Regions from separate parts of the Homo sapiens genome. Here region 2 is linked to region 1. The links are contacts of gene promoters, found by promoter capture Hi-C in blood cells and fetal thymus (Javierre and others, 2016). All regions are on one chromosome and are shown on one strand. Each heading gives the region's core, a stretch centred on a gene start or on the middle of the fragment in contact. The rest is flanking DNA. Distances are from core to core; before and after follow the strand shown.

Region 1 (6,538 bases), core at 309-2,808:
GCGGGACAAGAGTGAAACTCTGTCTCAAAACAAAAAAATTTGTAAAACTGATCCCACAATTCCCTACATTTGTAACTTTTAAAATTCAGAGGTAAATACATTTTTATTTAAGGAGGAATAATTCTTCAGAGCAAAATAATCTGAATATCACCTGGAATAGAGATTGGACAGAAAAAAGTGTGAACAGGGAAAACTAGGACAAGTCATATATGTAAATGAGAGTATAAAGAGTAAATGAGAGTGGTCACTGCTCACTGCAGCTTAACTAATCAGATAGTTAAGTTGCAGGCATAAAGTTTTTTTAACTTTTATTCCTCAAGTAATAAATTGAGGAAAATACAAATATGTACAAAATTTTTACAAAAGCTATCCATAAAAGGGCAAGTAGTAATATATAGAAAAGATCTACCAGATTAGTAACAAACTACCCCCATTAGGAAAATGGTAAATGATATGAATAGGAAATTCAAAAAAAGAAGAATTACAGATTTCCAATAAGCATAACTTAAGATATACACTGATATTGTAAGGAAACACAATCACCACAACCTTGCTAATCAAAGAAACTAATGATATTTATTGGAAAATAATGGGAATTTTTAATAGACTGGGTTAGAAGACTAGAAGTGTACGTCCCAAAATATTAATAGTTCAGCTGTAGGGTGAGATCACTGATTTTAATTTTCTCCTTTTATACATTTTTCCAGATTTCTCTACAGCAACTACGTATCATTTTGTAATAAATTTTAATTTTTCGATGCACAAAGCAATTGCCTGGAATTGCAGTTCGATATGAACCCAGGAGTTACGCTTGTAAAATAAACTATTGCTGATGTGACATTTCCATTTCTCAAGCAGACTGTAAATTTCTCAGATGTAGGTCATCATGTTATAATTAGGGTTCCATTGCTCATGATCTAGATGAAACACTTCTCCCTTTCTTGTGGTCTCTTCATTAATTTGGTCCCTACCGCAAAGGCAGGGGGATTAAAAATAAAATATCTTTTGACACTGGTTGGCAGGTGTACTAACACGTGTGCGGGAGGATTCCTGTTCTCGGCATGGTTCACGCCGGGCTCCGGCAGCGCCCTAGTACGTAAGGGGCTGCACTGGAGTGTGGACTGCCCGGTATCCTTAGAGAAAGTTTTGACAGTGTGACGCCAGTGTCGCCTCTAACCACGTACAAAACGCGCCATGCATTGGGTAGCTATTACAGTGCACATTTTTGTGCAGGAAGCTACCCCACCAGCGCAAGTATTTCAGAATCAAGATCGCACTCCCGTTTCCCCTTCTAGGGAAAGGATTCCAGATAAACACTGAGAAAACAGATTTAATATCTTAGGTCAAAACTCCAGGTCTTCCCATAGGAAGGCCCCTGGGCTGTCATTCTGAGGTGCCTATTTCCCCCGCGCCGTGTCCACGTCCACGAGTCCACGAACCCTCCGAGTTCTCTCTCCTCACCTGCCGAGGGCTCGCCCCTCTAGCCCCGCCCCGCCCCGCCCAGGACGCGTGACGTCACAACAAGCGCCGTGCGCCCCGCCCCCCATCGGGGGCAACCATTGTTCCGCCGGTCGCGCCGGAGCTGGGTTGCTCCTGCTCCCGTCTCCAAGTCCTGGTACCTCCTTCAAGCTGGGAGAGGGCTCTAGTCCCTGGTTCTGAACACTCTGGGGTTCTCGGGTGCAGGCCGCCATGAGCAAACGGAAGGCGCCGCAGGAGACTCTCAACGGGGGAATCACCGACATGCTCACAGGTTAGCACCGGGCCGGGCCCCGCTGGCTTTCTTCTTTCCTTCCAGCCTCTTCCCCTGCCTTCCTTCTCTCCCACACCGACAGTCCAGTGGGTAGGGTAGGTTCCTTGCAGCGGGTCGTCTTCCGTGGGGATCTCCCTCCGGCGCCCCTGGCTGGTTGTCAGTCCTGCCGGCTACACCTGGGCCATCGCTTGGGCTGCTTTTGGTCTGGCCCTTGGAGGAAACGGGTGGTCACTGTCTCTTAGAGGCTGCCATATCCCCTTCCAGAAAACAGTTCTCGTTTGTTTACTCGTGGTTCTTGTTCACCCGAGCCTTCTGTTGCCTTTCAGAACTCGCAAACTTTGAGAAGAACGTGAGCCAAGCTATCCACAAGTACAATGCTTACAGGTGGGACAGTGCAGCATTCTCGGGTAGCATACGTTCTGGGATACCCTGTTTAGTGTGGCAATTAACAGGACTGAGGGCCCAGTGGATATTTGGTCCATCTGCAAGAGCGGGAAAAAGCAAGAATCGAGGCTGGTACCTTACTATTTCTTGAAGAATGTGGGCAGTGCGTTATAGGATCAGTTCAGATAAGTTCCCAATTCTGATTGCAGATAGCTGTAGCCTGATACGTATTTTGTCATCATCAAACATGAATTACTAGAAATGCGGTGTAATTTTAACCGTAATGAAAGACAGCGGATGAAGTCCATACTGTGAAATATATGTGGTTCAAGGAATCACATTTTTTCTTTTGGTTGGTCTAAAGTTGATCCTGTGGGATCCTGATCCTGATCCTTGTTCCTTGTTCATGGGATCCTGTCCTTGTTCATCTCACCAGGGGCCTTATCCTATTCATTCTTTCCACATCCACCTGCTTCTACTCCTTAGCCTATATTTATTTATTTATTTATTTTTATTTGAGACGGGGTCTCGCTGTGGTATGATCATGGCTCATTGCAGCTTCAACCTTCCAGCCTCAAGTGATCTTCCCATCTCAGCCTCCTGAGTGGCTGGGACTACTACAGGCGCACGCCACCACACCCAGCTAATTTTTTTTTCTTTCTTTTTTTTTCTTTTTTTTTTTGTAGAGACCGGGTTTTGCTATGTTGCCCAGGCTGATCTCCAACTCCTAAACTCAAATGGTCCACACACCTTGGTCTCCCAGAGTGCTGGGATTCCAGGCATCAGCCTCGGTGTCAGCTCTCCTTAGCCTATAAATATGTGCAAGTCCCTCAGCTCTTAAAAGCAAAACCAAAACAATCTTAACTTCCCTCTAGCTAGCACCTTCCCTCTTTTCTCACTTTATGGTGAATCTTCTTGAAAAATCTTCATTCCTTGCCTGGACTTCTTAATACCTAATCATTTACTCAAGAAGTCCCAGTCCTTGCCTGGACCTACCAGTGCTCTGAAAATCCGCTCACCTACGTCTCATCTTATTGGACTCTCTGTGGCATTCACCCCTGGCTCATGCTGTGAATATCTCTTGACTTCTGTAATGGCACTCTTTCTGGTCTTTCATCTCTTCTTCTGTCTTACCTTTTAATGTTGGTATAGGTTGAGCATCCCTAATCTGAAAATTTGAAATGCTCTAAAATCTGGATGATTGCCGACATGATGACACAAGTGGAAAATTCCACATCCGATCTCATGTAGTAGGTGGCAGTCAAAATGGTCAAAACTTTGTTTCATGCACAAAATTATTAAAACGACTATATAAGATTACCTTCAGGGTATGTGCGTAAGGTGTGTGAGAAATATGACTGAATTTTGTATTTAGACTTGTATCTCCCATATCCCTAAGATATCTTATTATGTATACGCAAATATTCCAAACCCTGAAAAAAATTCAAAATCTGAAACAATGCTGGTCCCAGGCATTTCAGATAAGGGATAGTTAACCTGTGGTTCCGGGGAGTCTGCCTGCCCTTAGCCCTCTTTTCTTACTTCTGTAGTTTCCCTGGCAATCTTGCCATTCTTGACTTTGAAATGCCACTTATGTCAGTGACTCCAAATCTGTGTATCACTGGACTTTTTTCCACATTTTTAGCCCTATACTGTCTTTATCCCAAGTCAGCTCCCTTCTTCCATTCCCACTCCACACAGTTCAGAGCTGATTGTGCTCCCTCCTTTCCTTACTTCTGTGACTTCCTCTGTAAAGTAAAATAATTGTATTATCATCCATACATTTGATGATTCAAAATTACAGAGATATTCAACTTTGTATTCTATTTGGATCACAGCAGGTCTCAGAAAGGAGGTGTTTAGTTTGAAGAAGCTCATCGGGATAAGTGAGAGGGCCAGCAGTCTAGACAAATAAAATGTGCCAAAGCATTGAGACATGAAGGGTATAACGTTTTCTGGAAGTCAGATGTTCAGTTTGCTTAACGGGTATGGTATGAGTGGGAAATAAGTCTGGAAAAGCAGGTGATTCCCTACCACTCCTGCATGCTCCTCCCTACCCCAGTAGACATTTCTGTTGATTGTGGCCAAAGTATTCTTTTGAAAATAGTTATCTGATCTTGTCAGTCAAATAATTAAATAATATTTTCTCTTTACCTTGATAAAACCCAAATACATCATAGCATACAAAAGGCCTTTCATCTGATTCTTCTTCCCTTTTAGGCTTTGCCTCACAGTGCCAATGACCTGGAACTACTTGCCTTTCCTGAAATGATCCCCTCCATAAACTGTGTTTGCCTGCTCCTTTACTTATAAATATGTCTTTTCAGATTCATCATCAGTCATGTGCTTAGAGAGAAGTTCAAATCCAAATATAAAGGGTTATTTGTGCTATAACAGAATGCAAATCCAAGGTTCCAAAGACTATCCAGTGTTTATGCTTTTGACTTAGCTGTACTGTCACTTCTCATCAGCATCAACTCTGAATTACATTTTGCATTGAAATTATAGACAGAATACCGTCAGCGAGCTCCCAGGGTGTATCCAATCTGTCACCAGATTAACAAACTGGATATGTGTGGAGGTGGGCAAGAATTACAGGTCACCGCTTTATGCTGAACTGCAGTGGGAACAATTTTTTTTTTCTGTCCATAAGTTTATTGTCTTTATCTGAAAAATCCTCGTAGAAAATTGTTTGGTTTAGCTCTCTGCAGCCCCCTCCTGAGCCGTGGGGAAGCTTGCCTTCTTTTGAGCTATGCGATCTTTCTTCTGAGCAAGGGACATTTTGGGATGGTTCCACCTCTTTTTAACTTCTTTCTTGAGCTTCTTTTCATAGACTGGATTCTCTCCTATAGCAGCATGAGCTTTCATCTCCTTCATCATGTCTGAAGTTATGCTATTCTTTATGTATTGAGAGAACTGTTTCTTGTAAGCATCTTTATCTTCCATTAAGTAGTGCATGTAATCTGCAACATTCTGGCCTATGTTGTGCTTCTGGTGTAATTCTGCATTGAATTCCTTGCTTTCAGAATCATAACCAGGGAATCATTTGGTACTTTGAGGGATAGACAAGCCTCCATCCAGGTCACCAAAAACTTTATTGCCAGTGGTAGTTCTGGCAAGGCCTGCATCCAAATAGCAGGTGAAAGCACCTGGCTGACCATCAATGCTTTCTACATTGTATTATCGCCAGTCACCTCCACTTGGCCTTCATAGATCTTGTCCATGCCAAACCTATTGAGAAGCCTGTGGGCCAGCAGCAGGCCAGTACAATATGTTGCAGCATAATTTGTCAGGCCAACCTTCACACCATATTTTGGCAGTTCGTGTGCATATGCTGCGCAGACTATCATATCCCCCTCTATACGGGCATAAGCAATCTGACAATTGATATCTCTGTTTGTTATATGAACTATCATCCTCTATTTGGGTGTGTTGTATTTATTTTTATCCTGTATTACCAAGCGTTTCTGAGCATAGTAATCAGTTTTACCATCTTGTCATCTTTAAGTTTCATTTGGTATCTCTTAAAGTAGGCCTTATTCTTAACAACTTTAACAAAGTCCATCCTGTGGAACAGAGACCTGCAGGCCCAGCAGCACTAGGGGGTGGAAAGGCGGGAGCAATTTTTAAAAACTGATGTAGGGGCCAGGCACAGTGGCTCACGTCTGTAATCCCACCACTTTGGGATGCCAAGGCGGGTGGATGGCATGAACCCAGGAGTTCAAGACCAACCTGGGCAACATAGCAACATCCCATCTGCATTAAAAAAAAATAAATTGATATAGGGACATAAGGGAATGCAGTTTGAAACTATGAATTTTAAAATAGCTATCCAAGGGCTGCGTGTGGTGGCTCATGCCTGTAATCCTAGCACTTTGGGAGACCGAGGCAGGTGGATCATTTGAGGTCAGGAGTTGGAAACCAGCCTGGCCAACATGGTGAAGACCTGTCTCTACTAAAAATATAAAATTGGCTGGGCGCAGTGGCTAACGCCTGTAATCCCAGCACTTTGGGAGGCCAAGGCAGGCAGATCACGAGGTCAGGAGATCGAGACCATCCTGGCTAACATGGTGAAACCCCGTCTTTACTAAAAATGCAAAAAATTAGCCAGGCGTGGTGGCGGGTGCCTGTAGTCCCAGCTACTCAGGAGGCTGAGGCAGGAGAATGGCATGAACCCGGGAGGCGGAGCTTGCAGTGAGCCGAGATTGCGCCACTGCACTCCAGTCTGGGAGACAGAGCAAGACTGCGTCTCAAAAAAAAAAAAAAAAAAAAAAAAATATATATATATATATATATATATACACAAAATTAGCCAGGTGTGGTAGCATACACCTGTTATCCCAGCTACTCAGGAGGCTAAGGCAGGATAATTGCTTGAACCTGGGAGGCAGAGGCTACAGTGAG
Region 2 (6,652 bases), core at 3,726-6,225, 300 kb before region 1:
TTCTTCTCTAGGTTTGTCCCGATTGGCTAAAGTTATGAGAAACAAAACTGTATTTTTATCAGTCTTCTTTCAAAGTTAATAAATTATGAAGACAACCCATTTGCAAAGCAATCAAAGAGAGCAAAAGGTGAGTTTTTATTTTACTAAAAATTATATAAAGTCTCAAAAAGACAAAAGCAAATATTCAGTAGCAAATTAATAGTTGGAGCTTACACAGCACATTAACGAATGCCACGTTACTCTTACAATGGAGGGCTAATGAGAACAGGAAGTGGGATGGCATCAACAAGAGCAAAAAGAGCCAATACACAGTGAGGCTAAAAAAGTGACAACAGTTGTGGCTGGCACACTGGCTGCCTTCAGCCTTCCTAATGATATGCTTTCTCAATGGTCTAATGCTTATTTAAAACCTTGGCTTTTTTTTTTTTTTTTTTTTTTTTTGAGATGGAGTCTTGCTCTGTTGCCCAGGCTGGAGTGCAGTGGTGGTCATCTCAGCTCACGGCAAACTCTGCCTCCCAGGTTCAAGTGATTCTTCTGCCTCAGCCTCCAAGTAGCTGGGATTACAGGCACCTACCACCACACTCGGCTAATTTTTGTATTTTTAGTAGAGACGTTCACCATGTTGGCCAGGGTGGTCTCGAACTCCTGACCTCATGATCTGCCTGTCTCGGCCTCCCAAAGTGCTGGGATTACAGGCGTGAGCCACTGTGCCTGGCCAAACCTTGGCTATTCTTACTCAATAAGAGTAATGTGTTTACCTCTGTCACCACTGATGTGTTCCTGGCCCTGTGGAATAATTTTCAGACAAAACAAATCCTTTTTTCTGCTTTAAAAGGCAGTAAGTAAAAAGATGTATCCTGCTGGCTTGGAAGTTACCCTATCACACCATAACCATCTACTCAAAGTGTGATATCAAGTATGAAAACTGCTTTAAAAATACAGAAGCATATAAAATGCAATGTTTGCTGGGAAGGGTGATGTCTTCGAAACCGAGAGCTAAGTTAGACATGTGATTTTTAAAATTCATATCCAATTAAACAGTTACTATGTGCATACAATGTTTTGCTTCTAGGCCTTTGTACATGCTGTTCCCTTTTCAGGAACTACTCTCTTTCCCACCGCACCCATTTGCTTCCCCACTTCACTAACTTCACATGTGACTTCCTCTGAACAGACTTCCCTGACTTTTTCCACCCCCTCCTCTGTGTTTCCACAGTGCTCTATTTTACTTCATCAGAGCACTTATCACCATGTGTATTTATTACAGAGACGATGTCTGCTTTACCTACTCTGTCACTCCTAATCACTGTGCCGGCCCCTGGAAGATGCTTAATACATATGAAACAACCCAAACAAAACAGTTAAAAATTTTTTAATTAAAAAAATTAAAAATAAACAAAACAATCAGATACTGCCAGATAGATGGAAATACAAAGACGAAAAACAAGAACCTAAATTCACTAATAGGAGACAGGCTAAAAAAGTACTATGTAAAATGGTCTATGATGCAAGTGTGTACGGACATATGCAGCATGGAGATTAAGACAGGTCTTGAAGTCAGCCTGGGAGCAGGGTGGGTGATAAGGAGGAAGAAACAGAAAGAAACTTGACTAAACTAAGTCTGCAAGGTTGAAGAGCTAATTTATGAGGAAGAAAAAATGGATAACAATCATTCCAGACAGGAGAAAAATATAGGGGCAAGGGAAAACAAGATAGATCTGAGGAACTGCAGGGAGACTGATGCAGTACAATGGCTCTCGAACTCAAGCGTGCATCAGAATCGCCTGGAGGACTTACTAACATACGGGTTGCAAAGCCCCAAATTCAGTTTCTGATTGAATAGGCCTGAAATATGGCTCAAGAATCTGCATTTTAAACAAGTTTTTGGGGGATACTATTGCTGGTGCTGTCCTCTACATCCACACTTTGAGAACTGGTACAGTGGAACACAGAGGGCATTATGAAGAAGTGGCAATTGACAAGTTTGGAGCAACGCACGGGAATGGGTTACAACTCATATATACTATATCGCAGAATTTGGTACTGAAGGATTTTAAGCAGAGAAGTTTAATTTTAGAAAGATGGTAATAACAGTTAACATTTATGGAGCACTTATGTGCTAAACACTATTTCTAAGGACTTTACATATTCTGTACTGTCCATTATAGCAGCTACTAGCCACATGTGGCTATTTCAATTAAATTATAACTAAATAAAATTTAAAATTCAGCTCCTCACTCAACTGGCCATATTGCAAGAGCTCAATAGCTACACATGGCTCTGGCTATCACAGAGGGCAGTACAGATATAGAACATTTCCATCATTGCACAAAGTTCTGTCAGCCCAGATGTATATTAACTCATTAAATTCTCACAACTTCACTATGAGATAAGCACTGTATTATCCCCATTTTATAGAAGAAAATGTGGCAAAGAATGGTTAAGCAAATTACCCAAGGTCATAAAGCAAGTAGTCCCAGTGTGGGATAGAAAGCCCAGATGGTCTGGTCTTTGCGCTTGTGTTCTTAATCATTTCTTAGTAAGATCATTTTGGCAATAATGTGGACTAGACGAAGATGATACTGGAGGAAGGAAAATCAATGAAGAAACTACTAAGGTAATCAGGAGAGAAATGATGAGGACCTGCTCTAACAGAGGACCTCGAATACAGAAGAGGTTAAATAAGAGATGTTAAAAAGTGTAAGAGAGAAGACATGGGATGGAATAGAACTGAATCCAAAAGACAGACAAGTGAGGTATGGAAGATGACACCAAAGTTTCCATTTTAAGCATCAGAATCGATGGCAATGGCTCTTACCACTGTAAGAAATGACAGCCGGTTAAAGGAAGTTGATAAATTCCATCTGAGCCATTGTGAATCTGAAGAGACTGACATAAAATACTACACAATGGAATATACAAGTCCAGAGATCAGAAGAGAGCTCTCAAATTAAGATATGAAATTAGAGTCATCAGTAAAGAACACAGAGGTCTAGAAATAACTCAGGAAAGTTATCTCTAGATAACTCTCTAGAAAACAGTAAGAAATGAGTGAAGAACAGAACCTTAGGGAATCCAACATCTAGATACAGGCAAAAGATAAAACGCCAATAAACTGAAAAGGAATTACCAGAAAGATGGGAGGAAGGGGGAGACATCTAAGAATTATCCCAGAGGAAAGGGAAGAATGGTCAACAAATGCTAAATGCAGCTGAGAACTCAGGTAAAATAAGACTGAAAACTGTCCACAAGAGCAGTTTCAAATAGTGCTGCTCTAGGGCCAAAAGCCAGATTGCAGCAGACGTGGAATGAATATAGACTTTTTTCAAGAAGTTTAAAAATGAATGGAAACAGACAGGGTATACATAGAAAGAAGGATCTGCAGTGGTTTTTTGGTTGTTTTTACTCTAACGGGAGAGTCTTCTGCCTGCTAAGGACTAAAAAGTGAGCGAGAAAGATGATAGAGTCAAAAAATGGGACTATTTTTGATGGCACACGGCCCCTGAGGTAGCAGAGAATGGGGTCCTGAAAAAGAATGGAGAGATGAGCCTTTCACACTTCTTTCACTGTCCTATGACAAGGTAGCAAAGCGGGCAGAAATAAGCACAGATGTATTTAGGATGGCATGAGAGGGGTATAAACTCAATGAGCTCAATTGGACAGATTCCATTATCTCTATGATGTAGCATATGGGAGTATCTACTGAAAATGAGAAAAAAAGGTGGGAAGAAATACTGAATTTCTGCAGACAGAACAGACTATACACAGACATACATCTTCAAGCAGAGGGCAGAGCTCAGATTGGAGGCCACAAATTTGTAAGTGGCATCCCACCACATGGTCATGAGATTTTCCCCAAAGTTAAAGCAGAGAGGTTGGGCACGATGGCTCATGCCTGTAATCCCAGCACTTTGGGAGGCCAAGGTGGGCAGATCACCTGAGGTCAGGAGTTCAAGACCAGCCTAGCCAACATGATGAAACCCCGTCTCCACTAAAAAAATACAAAAATTAGCCAGGGGTGGTAGCAGGCACCTGTAATCCCAGCTGCTTGGGAGGCTGAGGCAGAAGAATCGCTTGAACCCAGGAGATGGAGGTTGCAGTGAGCAGAGATCGCACCACTGCACTCCAGCCTGGGTGACAGAGCAAGACTCCAACTCAAAAAAAAAAGGAGAAGGTGGTAAATGGCTGGAGTTTGCCAACATGATGCAGGAGTAGTGAGTGAGTGAGAATGTGCCATAAGGCCAAGCAATGAGAACAGCATTAGAGTGATGGCAGGGCACCTGTCGGAATCATGCAGGTAACTTTCTCGCAACTATATACCACACAAGATCTTCTTGAGATAAAGCAGTGAGGGTAAGGAGAAAGAAAGGTGGAAGATTAGAGTAGTTATAGCCAGGGAGGACAATAAAACAGAATGTACATTTCCAGAAGTACACTGTCCTGGGTCCAAAGTGTGTTCATGAGGGTGTGTGTGAAGCATGCTATTTCATCATTTGTTTGAATGTCAATTATGAGGTTAAAAAGTACCTGCTTCTTCTGTCTTCTGACTCTCTTAGCCAGTCCCCACTACAGAGATGTTGGTTCTAAGCATTAGAGCAATGGTTCTCAACCCCAGCTGCACATCAGATAAACATTCTTAAAAAAATAAAAAATAAAAAAAACTGAAACCTGGGCCTCACTACTAGTCAAATTTAATTAGTTTGGTATTTATTTTTTAAGCTTCCTCAGGTAATGCTAAAGTGAATTTAGTGCCAAGTACCACTGCTTTCCAAAGAATAAGGCTTTGGATTTATGTTACAGAATTAAAGAAAAACTGAGTGGCATGGAAAAAAGTAAGGCAGGAAAATGGTGAAAGAGGGTTTAAATAGTAAGTTAGATATTTAAAGATGCCCTGAATAGAAAAATTGGGAAACTATTAAAGTACAGAATCACACTCCACACACAAAAATAGTAATAATGTTTCTGAGAGTTCTGTTAAAGGTTCTAGAAAACTCAGGAGTTAAATGCTTCACTGTACCCAATGACTAAGAAAAAAGGAACCTAGACTTTACTAAGCTCAAAGAATTAAAAACCAACACTTAGCAGCTCTTCAGGTCAACTACAGTTCACAATTCCCTGGAGGAAAACGCAGCCCATAGTACAAGTCTGACAACACCTCTAGATCTGCGGAATCACCTATTCTACATAAAAGGTAAACGGCAAAAGAAGCAACTATCTTCTTTAACACATTGAAAGCTTTTTTTTTTTTTTTGGCTGCCAGATTTTATTTCCACACCAGTTATCTTCTTCTTAACAAGTTACACCTATAATCTTAAAATCGCCCAGTTATTTTACAAACATCTGTCCTCAATCTTAATCTTTATTTGCCACTATCCTAATGTACTTGCTAAGTTTTACAGCAAAGCAGAAGTGATGCAGAGATGAAGTGTTAGTCATAAAGACCAATAAAGACAAAAAATGATGTGCTGTCTGCGGTCTTCCCCACACGGTCTGTTTACAAGTAACATTACAAATCTCTCAAGCTCCTCCCAGACACTATGTTTATAGAAGTGCTAGACTATACACTTTTGGTCCACCCATATTTAATGTCTTTGGTAAAAATTACTTCATTAATTAATAGAAAGGTTTGTACCTTGCTATCTCTAGCTCAGTCTCAAGAATTTTAAATTCTAACCAATGATCCAAGTCACTCAGAGGTCATTTGTGTTGCAGACCTACTGAAAATTAGACTTACCTTTAAATGGACTTTTTTTCCCAAAACTCAAGGAGTACTTTTTCTTCCAGCATTAAGGTAGCTCAACATGTTCCCCTTCTAATATTTAGCCAACAACATAAGAAAACCTTGATTCCTCTAACTTGGGCCATAAGAAAGCAGTCTTTTCCCAAAAAGTTGTTTCAAAACTCTAACAAGAGTGTATAGCTATTTTCACACACTGAAATAGCAGATTTATATATTTGTGGTTTACGATACCACCAATATTCTCTAGACAAGGTTTATTCTATGGTTTCCATTAAGGAAGAGAATTCTAACTAAATTATTTTAGGCTCACTGCTCTCTAATACTATAAAGCAGTACTACAGCATAATGAAAAAAGCACAAAATTGAGAAGGGCCTGACCAATTCTTCCAGATGGTATTAACTGGCTGTGTGGCACTGGACAAGACACTTCAACCTCTTTGGCTCTCAAATTTCCCTATTATTTGTGAAATCAGATTAGAATCACTGTGATCCAAGATTGCTACTGGCTGAACATTCTACACAATGCAGAAGATACAAGTCTTTTTTTCTAATAATCTATGTTTCGTAAGCATAATACAATTCAACCATAAAAGATACCTCAATCAACACTACAGCCAGACTTACTTTTCCTTAGCAGTCTTTTTTTTTCTTTAAATTGCTGACAGTTAAAAACTATTTTGACCCAGAATGGCATACTACTATAATCTCTATGCTTAATTTCAACTCCTAATAAAATAGTGCCACACTACAAATGGTTTCTTCACCTGTTCCCTAATGAAGTTGAAAATAATTCCTTGGCCTTGAATTTACAGATACATGTACAGGGCTGATGAAAGCCATCTGCTGGGAACTATGACTTTCATATGAAAGGAAAAAACCAGAAGGAACTGCTTTCATTTTCCTGGGAACCAG

What was found. Contacts are between HindIII fragments. The CHiCAGO score rates a contact against its expected background, and 5 or more counts as called.
Region 2: a contact is called between a fragment that was not itself captured here and the fragment with the promoter of POLB in region 1, in 5 of 17 cell types (activated CD4 T cells, naive CD4 T cells, total CD8 T cells and 2 more). The highest score is 7.6, in activated CD4 T cells.

What each region holds. Positions count from the first base shown.
Region 1 is chr8:42,336,936-42,343,473 of GRCh38, forward strand. It overlaps POLB (DNA polymerase beta), which reads left to right and starts at 1,559. Exons shown (of 14, transcript NM_002690.3): 1 at 1,559-1,750; 2 at 2,077-2,134. The coding sequence starts at 1,690. It also overlaps the pseudogene RPL5P23. The HindIII fragment of the contact is 11,887 bases long and covers 1-4,866 here.
Region 2 is chr8:42,032,456-42,039,107 of GRCh38, forward strand. The region is part of intron 2 of KAT6A (lysine acetyltransferase 6A); the gene reads right to left. Among named protein-coding and RNA genes, the nearest start is that of KAT6A-AS1, 16 kb to the right of the region's middle. The HindIII fragment of the contact is 516 bases long and covers 4,718-5,233 here.